Regions from separate parts of the Homo sapiens genome. Here region 2 is linked to region 1. The links are contacts of gene promoters, found by promoter capture Hi-C in blood cells and fetal thymus (Javierre and others, 2016). All regions are on one chromosome and are shown on one strand. Each heading gives the region's core, a stretch centred on a gene start or on the middle of the fragment in contact. The rest is flanking DNA. Distances are from core to core; before and after follow the strand shown. Region 1 overlaps ITGAM (integrin subunit alpha M). Region 2 holds the start of PRSS8 (serine protease 8).

Region 1 (5,143 bases), core at 813-3,312:
AACACAATATACCAAACTTAATGGGAGGCAGCAAAAGCAGTACTAAAGGAAAGTTCGGGATAAACACCTAATTTTAAAACAAAAAGACAAATTTCAATTACAAAACCTAACTTTACACCTCAAGAAATGAGAAATAAAAGAACAAACTAAACCTAAAGTTAGTAGAAGGAAGAAAATAATAAAGATTACAGAAAAATAAATCAAATAGAGAATAGAAAAAAATCAATGAAATTAAGTTGATTTTTCAAAAAGATAGAATTGACAAGCTTTGGCCAGGTGCAGTGGCTCACGCCTGCAATCCCAGCACTTTGGGATGTCGAGGCAAGTGGATCACCTGAGATGAGGAGTTCAAAACCAGCCTGGCCATCATGGTGAAACCCTGTCTCTACTAAAAATACGAAAATCAGCCAGGTGTGGTGGCACGTGCTTGTAATGCCAGCTACTCAGGAGCCTGAGGCAGGAGAATCACTTGAACCTGGGAGGTGGAGAATGCAGTGAGCTGTGATCATGCCACTGCACTCCAGCCTGGGCAACAGAGTGAGACTCCATCTCAAAAAAAAAAAAAAAAAGAACTGACAAGCTTTTAGGTAGACCAAGGAAAAAGGGAGAAAAAACAGAAACAACAGATAAGTAAAATTATAAATGAAAGAACATACAACTGATGCCATAGCAATAAAAAGGATCATTAAGAGACTACTATGAACAATTATATGTTAACAAACTTGATAACCTTGAAGGAATGGATAAATTCCTAGAAATATACAACCTACCAAGCCTGAATCATAAGGCAATAGAAAGTTTAAACAGATCTATAATGAGTAAGGAAATTGAATCAGTAATCAAAGACCTCCTAACAAAGAAAAGCCCAGGACCTGGTGGCTTCTCAGGCAAATTCTACCAACCAAACATTTAAATAAGAATTAATATGAATTCTTCTCAAACTCATCCAAAAAACTGAAGAGGAGGGAATACTTCCAAACTTATTGTATGAGGCAAGCACTATCCTGACACTAAATCCCAACAAACACACCATGAGAAAAGATCACTACATGCCAATTTCCCTATTGAACATAGATCCAAAATCCTAAATAAAATACTAGCAAACTGAATTCAATAGCACAAAAGGGTCATACGCCATGACCATGTGGGCTTTATTCCTGGCATGCAAGGATGGCTCAACATATGCAAATCAATAAATGTGATGCACCACATTAACAGAATAAGGAATAAAAATAACATGATCTTATCAATAAGAAAAGAAAGCATTTAATAAAACTAAACATCTGTCTTAGCTTATTTGGTATAACAAATAACATAGACTGGATGGGTTATAAGCAATAGAAATTTATTTCTCATAGTTCTGAAGACTTGTGACATCCAAAATCAAGGTGCAAGCAGATTCAATATCTGGTGAGAGCCTATTTTCTGGTTCATAGGCAACCATCATTTTGCTTTTGTCTAAGGGCACTAATCCTATTAATGATGGCCACACTCTCATGACCTAAACACCTTCCAAAGGTCCCATCTACAAATACCATCACACAAGGAATTAGGCTTCAACATATGAATCTGGGGAGGACACAAACATTCAGGCCACAGGAATAGCCACTCATGATTAAAAACCCTCAACAAACTAGAAATACAGGGAAATTACATCAACATGATAAAGAACATTAAAAAAAGTGTCTAGTTAACATCATACCCAGTGGTGAAAATTTGATTTTACCACTAAAATTAGGAACAAGGCAAGGATGCCCACACTCACCACTTCTATTTCAACACAGTACTGAAAGTCCTAGCCAGAGCAATTGGGCAAGAAAAAGATAAGAAATGCATTCAAGTTAGAAATAAAGAAAAAAAAATTGTCCCTGTTTGCAATTGACATGATCTTATATATAAGAAACTTGTTATAAATACTCTACGAAAAAGTTATCAAATTTAATAAACAAATTTAGTAAAGTCATGGAATACAAAATGAACATACAAAAATTATTTGTTTCTATACACTAACAACAAACTATCTGAAAAAGAAATTAATCCTATTTACAATGGCATCAAAAAATAAAATGCTTACAAGTTAATTTAACCAAGAAGGTGAAAAATATGCACACTAAAACTATAAAACATTGACGAAAGAAAGTTAAGACAAAAATCAATGGAAAGATATCCCATATTATGGATTGAAAGAATATTTTTAAAGGTCCATACTATTCAAAGTGATCGATAGAGTCAATGTAATTCCTACCAAAATCCCAATGGCATTTCTTACAGAAATAGAAAAAACAATACTAAAATTAATATGAAGTCACAAAAGACCTCAAATATCCAAGACAATCTTGAGCATAAACAACAAAGGTAGAGGTATCACACTACCTGACATCAAAATACACCACAAAGGTATACTCAGCAAAACAGCATGACACTGACATAAAAACAGAGACATTGACCAATGGAACAGAATACAGAGCTCAGAAATGAACCCATGCATTTACAATCAACTAATTTTCTTTTCTTTTTTTTTTTTTTCCAGACGGAGTCTTGCTCTGTTACCCAGGCTGGAGTGCAGTGGCATGATGTAGGCTCACTGCAACCTCTTCCTCCCAGGTTCCCCCATTCTCCTGCCTCAGCCTCCCGAGTAGCTGGAACTACAGGTGCCCACCACCATGCCTGGCTAATTTTTTTTTTTTTTTTTTTTTTTTTTTTTTTTTTTTTTGAGACGGAGTCTCGCTCTGTCGCCCAGGCCGGACTGCGGACTGCAGTGGCGCAATCTCGACTCACTGCAAGCTCTGCTTCCCGGGTTCACGCCATTCTCCTGCCTCAGCCTCCCGAGTAGCTGGGACTACAGGCGCCCGCCACCGCGCCCGGCTAATTTTTTGTATTTTTAGTAGAGACGGGGTTTCACCTTGTTAGCCATGACGGTCTCGATTTCCTGACCTCATGATCCACCCGCCTCAGCCTTCCAAAGTGCTGAGATTACAGGCATGAGCCACCGCGCCCGGCCAACAATCAACTAATTTTCAACAAAGGTGCCAAGGGCATACAATGGGGAAAGGACAGTCTTTTTAACAAATGGTGTTAAGAACACTGGATATCCACAGGCAAAAGAATGAAACTGAGCCTTTATCTCAAACCAAATACAAAAATCAAAAGTGCTGGGCCGGGTGCAGTGGCTCACGCCTGTAATCCCAGCACTTTAGGAGACTGAGGCGGGTGGATTACCTTAGATCAGGAGTTCAAGACCAGCCTGGCCAACATGGTGAAACCCCGTCTCTATTAAATATACAAAAAAGTAGCCAGGCATGGTGGCGGAGGCCTGTAATCCCAGCTACTTGGGAGGCTGAGGCAGGAGAATCGCTGGGACCCGGGAGGTGGAGGTTGCAGTGAGCTGAGATCGTGCCACTGCACTCCAGCCTGGGCAATAGAGAGAGACTCCATCTAAAATAAAATTAAATTAAAAAATAAAAAAATTAAAAAGTGAGTTAAAGGCTTAAATGTAAGATCTAACACTATAAACTATTAGAAGGAAACGTAGAGGGAAAGCTTCATGACATTGGTCTGGGCAATGATTTTTTTATATGATCCTGAAAGCACAAGCAACAAAAACAAAAACAGACAAATGGAATTGCATCAAACTAAAAAGCTTCTGCACAATAAAGGAATAATTAACAGAGTGAAGAGACAACCTACAGACTGGGGGAAAATATTTGCAAACCACACAACTGATAAATGGTTAATATCCATAACACATAAAGAACTCAATAGTAAGAAAATAAATAACCCAATTTAAAAATGGGCAAAGAGGGCCGGGTTCGGTGACTCACACCTGTAATCCCAGCACTTTGGGAGGCTGAGGCAGGTGAATCACTTGAGATCAGGAGTTTGAGACCAGCCTGGCCAACATGGTGAAATGCCATCTCTACTAAAAATACAAAAATTAGCTGGGTGTGGTGGTGGGCACCTGTAATCCCAGCTACTCAGGAGGCTGAGGCAGGAGAATCACCTGAACCTGGAGGCAGAGGTTGCAGTTCACGCTACTGTACTCCAGCCTGGGTGACAGACTGAGACTCCATCTCAAAAAAAAAAAAAAAAAAACCCTGCCTCCTACTACCACAGGAGGAACAGCCTAACCGTTTGCTGTAAAAGTTGGCTGTAGCTGATCTTGTGAAAACTACTTTAAATTTCATATGCAGCCAAAAAAGAGCCCATATAGCCAAGACAATCCTAAGCAAAACAACAAAGCTGGAAGCATCACACTACCTGACTTCAAACTATACTACAAGGCTACAGTAACCAAAACAGCATGGTACTGATACCAAAACAGATATATAGACAAATGAAACAGAACAGAGGCCTCAGAAATATCACCACACATCTACAACCATCTGATCTTCAACAAACCTGACAAAAGCAGGAAATGGGGAAAGGATTCCCTATTTAATAAATGCTTCTGGGAAAACTGGCTAGCCATATGCAAAAAACTGAAACTAGATCCCTTCCTTACACCTTATATAAAAATTAACTTAAGATGGATTAAAGACTTAAATGTAAAATTTACAACCATAAAAACCCTAGAATAAAACCTAGGCAGTACCATTCAGGGCATAGGCATGGGCAAAATCTTCCTTACTAAAACACCAAAAGCAATTGCAACAAAAGCCAAAATTGACAAATGAGATCTAATTAAACTAAAGAGCTTCTGCACAGCAAAAGAAACTATCATCAGAGTGAACAGGCAGCCTACAGAATGAGAGAATATTTTTGCAATCTATCCATCTGACAAAGGTCTAATATCCAGAATCTACAAGGAACATAAACAAATTTACAAGAAAAAAACAAACAACCCCATCAAAAAATGGGCAAAGGATATGAACAGATACTTCTCAAAAGAAGACATTTATGTGGCCAACAAACATATGAAAAAAAAAAGCTCATCACTGGTCATTAGAGAAATGCAAATCAAAACCACAATGAGATACCATCTCATGCCAGTTAAAATGATGATCATTAAAAAGTCAGGAAACAACAGATGCTGGAGAGGATGTGGAGAAATAAGAATGCTTTTACACTGTTAGTGGGAGTGTAAATCAGTTCAACCATTGTAGAAGACAGTGTGGCGATTCCTCAAGGATCTAAAACCAGAAAT
Region 2 (5,143 bases), core at 872-3,371, 180 kb after region 1:
GCCTCCTGAGAAGCTGGGATTACAGGTGCCCACCACCATGCCCAACTAATTTTTGTATTTTTAGTAGAGGTGGGGTGTCTCTATGTTGGCCAGGCTGGTCTTGAACTCCTGACCTCAGATGATCCGCCCACCTCAGCCTCCCAAAGTGCTGGGATTTACAGGCGTGAGCCACTGCATCTGGCCTATTTATTTTATTTATTTATTTATTTTGAGATGGAGTCTCCCTCTGTTGCCCAGGCTGGAGTGCAGTGGCACAATCTTGGCTTCCCAGGTTCAAGCAATTCTCCTGCCTCAGCCTCCCGAGTAGCTAAGATTACAGGTATGCGCCACCACGCCTGGCTAATTTTCTTTGTATTTTTTAGGAGAGACGGGGTTTTACCATGTTGGCCAAGCTGGTCTCAAACTCCTGATCTTGAGAATGATCCTCCCACCTTGGCCTCACAAAGTGCTGGGATTATAGGTGTGAGCCACCACATCCAAGCTCCACAATTTTTTTTGTTTGTTTGTTTTTTGAGACGGAGTCTCGCTCTGTCGCTCAGGCTGGAGTGCAATGGCGCAATATCTCGGCTCACTGCAACCTCCACCTCCTGGGTTCAAGCGATTCTCCTGCCTCAGCCTCCTGAGTAGCTGGAATTACAGGTGCGTGCTACCACGCCTGGCTAATTTTTGTATTTTTAGTAGAAATGGGGTTTCACCATGTTGTTCAGGATGGTCTCAAACTCCTGACCTCGTGATTCGTGTGCCTTGGCCTCCCAAAGTGCCGAGATTAGAGGCGTGAGCCACCACACCCAGCCTCAACAGGTGTTTTGAACGGCCAGAGTGGCCCTCAAGGAGGATACATGCCTCACTCCCACCGCAGCCACACGGCAAGCCTTCTTTCCCTGAGCCTCTGCCCTCTGCACCCCATCCCCCCATCTTCGCCTTACCACCTTTTATAATCCCTTTCGGTCTCAGTTTCCAAGGCAATTCCTCGAGGACCCTTTCACAATGCCAGCCTTTGCCAGGCTGTGGTGTGCTCACGCCATTCTTTTTCATCACTATTCCTAGCTTGAAATTATTGTGTAATTGCAATTTTTTTTTTTAAGACAGGGTCTCCCTCTGTTGCCCAGGCTGGAGTGCAGTGGCGTGATCATAGCTCAATGCTTCGTTGAACTCCTGGGCTCAAGCAATCCTCCTGCCTCAGCCTCCCAAATAGCTGGAACCATAGGCATGCGCCACAATGCCTGCCTAATTTTTATATTTCTTTGTAGAGATGAGGCCTCGCTATATTCCCCAGGCTGGTCTGGAACTCCTGGCTTCAAGTGATGCTCCAGCCTCAGCCTCCCAAAGCCGACTAGCCACCTTGCCAGCCTGTTTGTGATTATTTGATTGAAGTGTGTCACCCCTACTTCACCATGAGCTCAGGGCTCAAGGGGGACGGGGCTGGTGCCTGTTTTGTCCTGGACACCTGGGAACATCATAGGCACTTAGGAAATGTCTGTGGGATGATTGGTGCTGCTCCACAAGCTCGCCACCACCCATGAGGTGCAGGCATCGCAGAAAGGGCCTGGCAGGGGACAGACCATAGTGTCTTAAGCTCCCATAACCAGCCTAAGGAGGGAGGGAAGAAGGGAGGAGTGGCTGTGGCTCCAGATAATAAAAGCTGGGGCCAGGCCCTGGGGGGCATAACTGGCCTGAGATAACCTGAAAGACCTGAGGCGGAGGAGAGTCGTCACATTCCAGGGAGACTGCACACACACACAAACCACATGCACGTGCATGCACGCACACTCAGACACACACACTACACACACAGGGACACACACAGCCTACACATGTGCACATACAGCCTGTACATGCACACACACACACATACCACACCACATAAGAGGACACACACAGCCTACACAGGCATACACACACACCACATACACACTACACACCGGGACACACACACAAAAGGCCTATGCATGTGCACACACATACACACGGACACATACATGCACACACACGGGCCTGCAGCTCTGAAAGGACTCATGACTTTGGTGGCAAGAGGAGCTGGCGGAGCCCAGCCAGTGGGCGGGGCCAGGGGAGGGGCGGGCAGGTAGGTGCAGCCACTCCTGGGAGGACCCTGCGTGGCCAGACGGTGCTGGTGACTCGTCCACACTGCTCGCTTCGGATACTCCAGGCGTCTCCCGTTGCGGCCGCTCCCTGCCTTAGAGGCCAGCCTTGGACACTTGCTGCCCCTTTCCAGCCCGGATTCTGGGATCCTTCCCTCTGAGCCAACATCTGGGTCCTGCCTTCGACACCACCCCAAGGCTTCCTACCTTGCGTGCCTGGAGTCTGCCCCAGGGGCCCTTGTCCTGGGCCATGGCCCAGAAGGGGGTCCTGGGGCCTGGGCAGCTGGGGGCTGTGGCCATTCTGCTCTATCTTGGATTACTCCGGTCGGGGACAGGTAAGTGAGGACGTGGGGGCAGGGTGGGGACAATGCACTGGAGGGAGCCGGCGTGATCATTTTCTGGGGTGTGCCCTTGTCTGGGGCCCAAGAAAACCCCCGGCCTCCCTAGCTCTTGGCCTCTCTTTCCCACCTTGGCTCTGTCAGGGAAGGGGCCAGCCCTCTGGAGCAGTGGTGGGTACTAAGGGGTCAGGGAACCCGAGTCTTCCCTACTCACCCCTCCTCTTTCTCTTTCTTTCTAGGAGCGGAAGGGGCAGAAGGTGAGACTTTCCTCGGAGAGGGAGGAGGGGAGGGGGAGGTGACTTGGATCGGATTCCCCTGGGGTTTAACCAGTGCCTGGCCTTCAGCTGGGCTGCCTTCCAACTAGATTCTCTTAGGGCTCCCAGAGTGGGGGGTTTTAGCCCTCACCTTATGGGCAGAGAAGCAGGGACTTGCCCAGGGCACACTGCCAGTGAAGGTGCAGCTGGGATTCAGATCCACGTCTGACTCCCAAAGTGGGGCAATCGAGGTGGTTTTTTTGGTTTGGTTTTTGTCTTTTGAAACAGGGTCTGGGTCTGTCGTCACCCAGGCTGGAGTGCAGTGGCCCGATCGCAGCTCACTGCAGTCTCAGTGATCCAGCCTCCCGGGCTCACGTGATCCTCCCACCTCCCCACCTCAGCCTCCCTAGTGGCTGGGACTACAGGTGCATGCCATCACACCCAGCTAGTTGTGTTTTGTTTTTGTTTTTGTTTTTGTTTGGTAGAGATGTGGGTCTCACTATGTTGGCCGGGCAGGTCTTGAACTCCTGGGCTCAAGCGATCCTCCTGCCTTGGCCTCTCAAAGTGCTGGGATTACAGGTGTGAGCCACCGTTCCCATCCTGGAGGTGGTTTTGAGGGAACCAAACCAAGGGTCTCCTTTCTTGGAAGGCACCCAACCCAGCTCTGAGTCAGACCGGCTTTCAATCCTGGCTTCCCCATGCACTGGCTGTGTGTCATTGGCCAAGTCCCCCCACTTCTCTAAGCCTTAGACTCCTCACCTCTAAAATGAAGCTGGTCATGTCCGTCTCCTGGGGCTGTGGAGAGGATGCAGGGAGATGAGGAAGCGAAAGCCCCTCCAGGGCCTGGCACAGCCGCTAGGCTCTCTAAATAGTGGCTATTGTCATGATGATAAGGGAGAGAAAGATCTGGTCTGCAATTTTCTCTGCTCCTAGATGACTTTGTGAAGAGCAGTTGGGCTCCACTCCAAAGTGGCCTCAATGGGGGTGGGGCTGGGGCTGTCCTGGAAACTAGACATTCACATCACAGGAGCCCAGTTCTGCTGTTGGTTTGTTGAATATATGTCCACGACGCCACAGGCACTGCAGACATGAGAATCTGCCCCTAGGGAATGCCCAGATTGGTGTGGTGGAAACAGACACAGTTGTGGACTCCGGAACAATTGTGAGACTGGGCAGCATCGGGGAGCATGGTGGAGGTTGGGGGGTGCTGGGCTCGGAGGCAATGCCCAACTCAGCCAGCAGAAGCCCGCCTGTCTACGGAGGGGCTGCTGTTCCAATCAAGCATCCACAGGCAAAGGGAAGTTTGCCAGACAGTAAGGATGGGGAAGGGCATACCAGGTAGAGTGACCTGGATCAGCCAAGGTCCCGGGTAAACAAGTGTGTGGCCTGATGTACACAACTGAAGGGTCCAGAGGGGACGGCTGGGTCCGATGGCGGTGCCATGGTCTGTCTGGAATGTATCTTAAGGACCGCGTGGAGCCAAGAAGGGTTTAAGCAGGGCTGTGGCCTGGTCAGATTGGGGGTTTATGAAAATCTTCAGACTTGTAAGGGGCGGGATGGATGGAAGGCTTGCAAGGAGAGAAGCTGCCATGAGACCTGAATTAGGTAATGGGTAGTGGACAGAAGGGGCACAACTGCCCATGCCTGGGAGGGGACAAAGGGGTGTTGACTCCTGTGAACCCACTTCCCAAGCTCTATATCAGAGCTCCTGGGCTGCATAGGAGTGGCCAGGCTAACAACCTGACCCCTTCCCTTCCTCCCTGGGCAGCTCCCTGCGGTGTGGCCCCCCAAGCACGCATCACAGGTGGCAGCAGTGCAGTCGCCGGTCAGTGGCCCTGGCAGGTCAGCATCACCTATGAAGGCGTCCATGTGTGTGGTGGCTCTCTCGTGTCTGAGCAGTGGGTGCTGTCAGCTGCTCACTGCTTCCCCAGGTACCAAATGGTGAAAGTCAAAAGTGGGCTGGAGGTCAAAGTTAATGGGTCAATCCAGGTCAGAGGTTGGGGTTCTTGGGTTGGGTCTGAGAGTGTCAGTTCTAAGTCTGGAAGGACCAGTTAGGAGTGAAGGTGAGGGGTCAGAGGTTACATGATAAAACTAAGGTGCAATTTGAGACCTAAAAGGGGCTGATCGGAATCAGGGGTTGGCAGTGGGGGTTGGGGAACAAGGAGAGGTCTCCTGGGTCTCAGCCTTTGCCCCCTGCCTGCAGCGAGCACCACAAGGAAGCCTATGAGGTCAAGCTGGGGGCCCACCAGCTAGACTCCTACTCCGAGGACGCCAAGGTCAGCACCCTGAAGGACATCATCCCCCACCCCAGCTACCTCCAGGAGGGCTCCCAGGGCGACATTGCACTCCTCCAACTCAGCAGACCCATCACCTTCTCCCGCTACATCCGGCCCATCTGCCTCCCTGCAGCCAACGCCTCCTTCCCCAACGGCCTCCACTGCACTGTCACTGG

The links. The method cuts DNA at HindIII sites, captures the fragments that hold promoters and counts their contacts. A CHiCAGO score of 5 or more calls a contact.
Region 2: a contact is called between the fragment with the promoter of PRSS8 here and a fragment that was not itself captured in region 1, in 2 of 17 cell types (neutrophils and monocytes). The highest score is 6.0, in neutrophils.

What each region holds. Positions count from the first base shown.
Region 1 is chr16:31,313,771-31,318,913 of GRCh38, reverse strand. The region is part of intron 14 of ITGAM (integrin subunit alpha M); the gene reads right to left. Among named protein-coding and RNA genes, the nearest start is that of ITGAX, 39 kb to the left of the region's middle. The HindIII fragment of the contact is 2,960 bases long and covers 583-3,542 here.
Region 2 is chr16:31,132,705-31,137,847 of GRCh38, reverse strand. PRSS8 (serine protease 8) reads left to right here and starts at 2,121. Exons shown (of 6, transcript NM_002773.5): 1 at 2,121-2,434; 2 at 2,677-2,694; 3 at 4,460-4,622; 4 at 4,895-5,143. The coding sequence starts at 2,350. RefSeq lists enhancers at 3,060-4,006, 4,955-5,143. The HindIII fragment of the contact is 17,481 bases long and covers 1-5,143 here.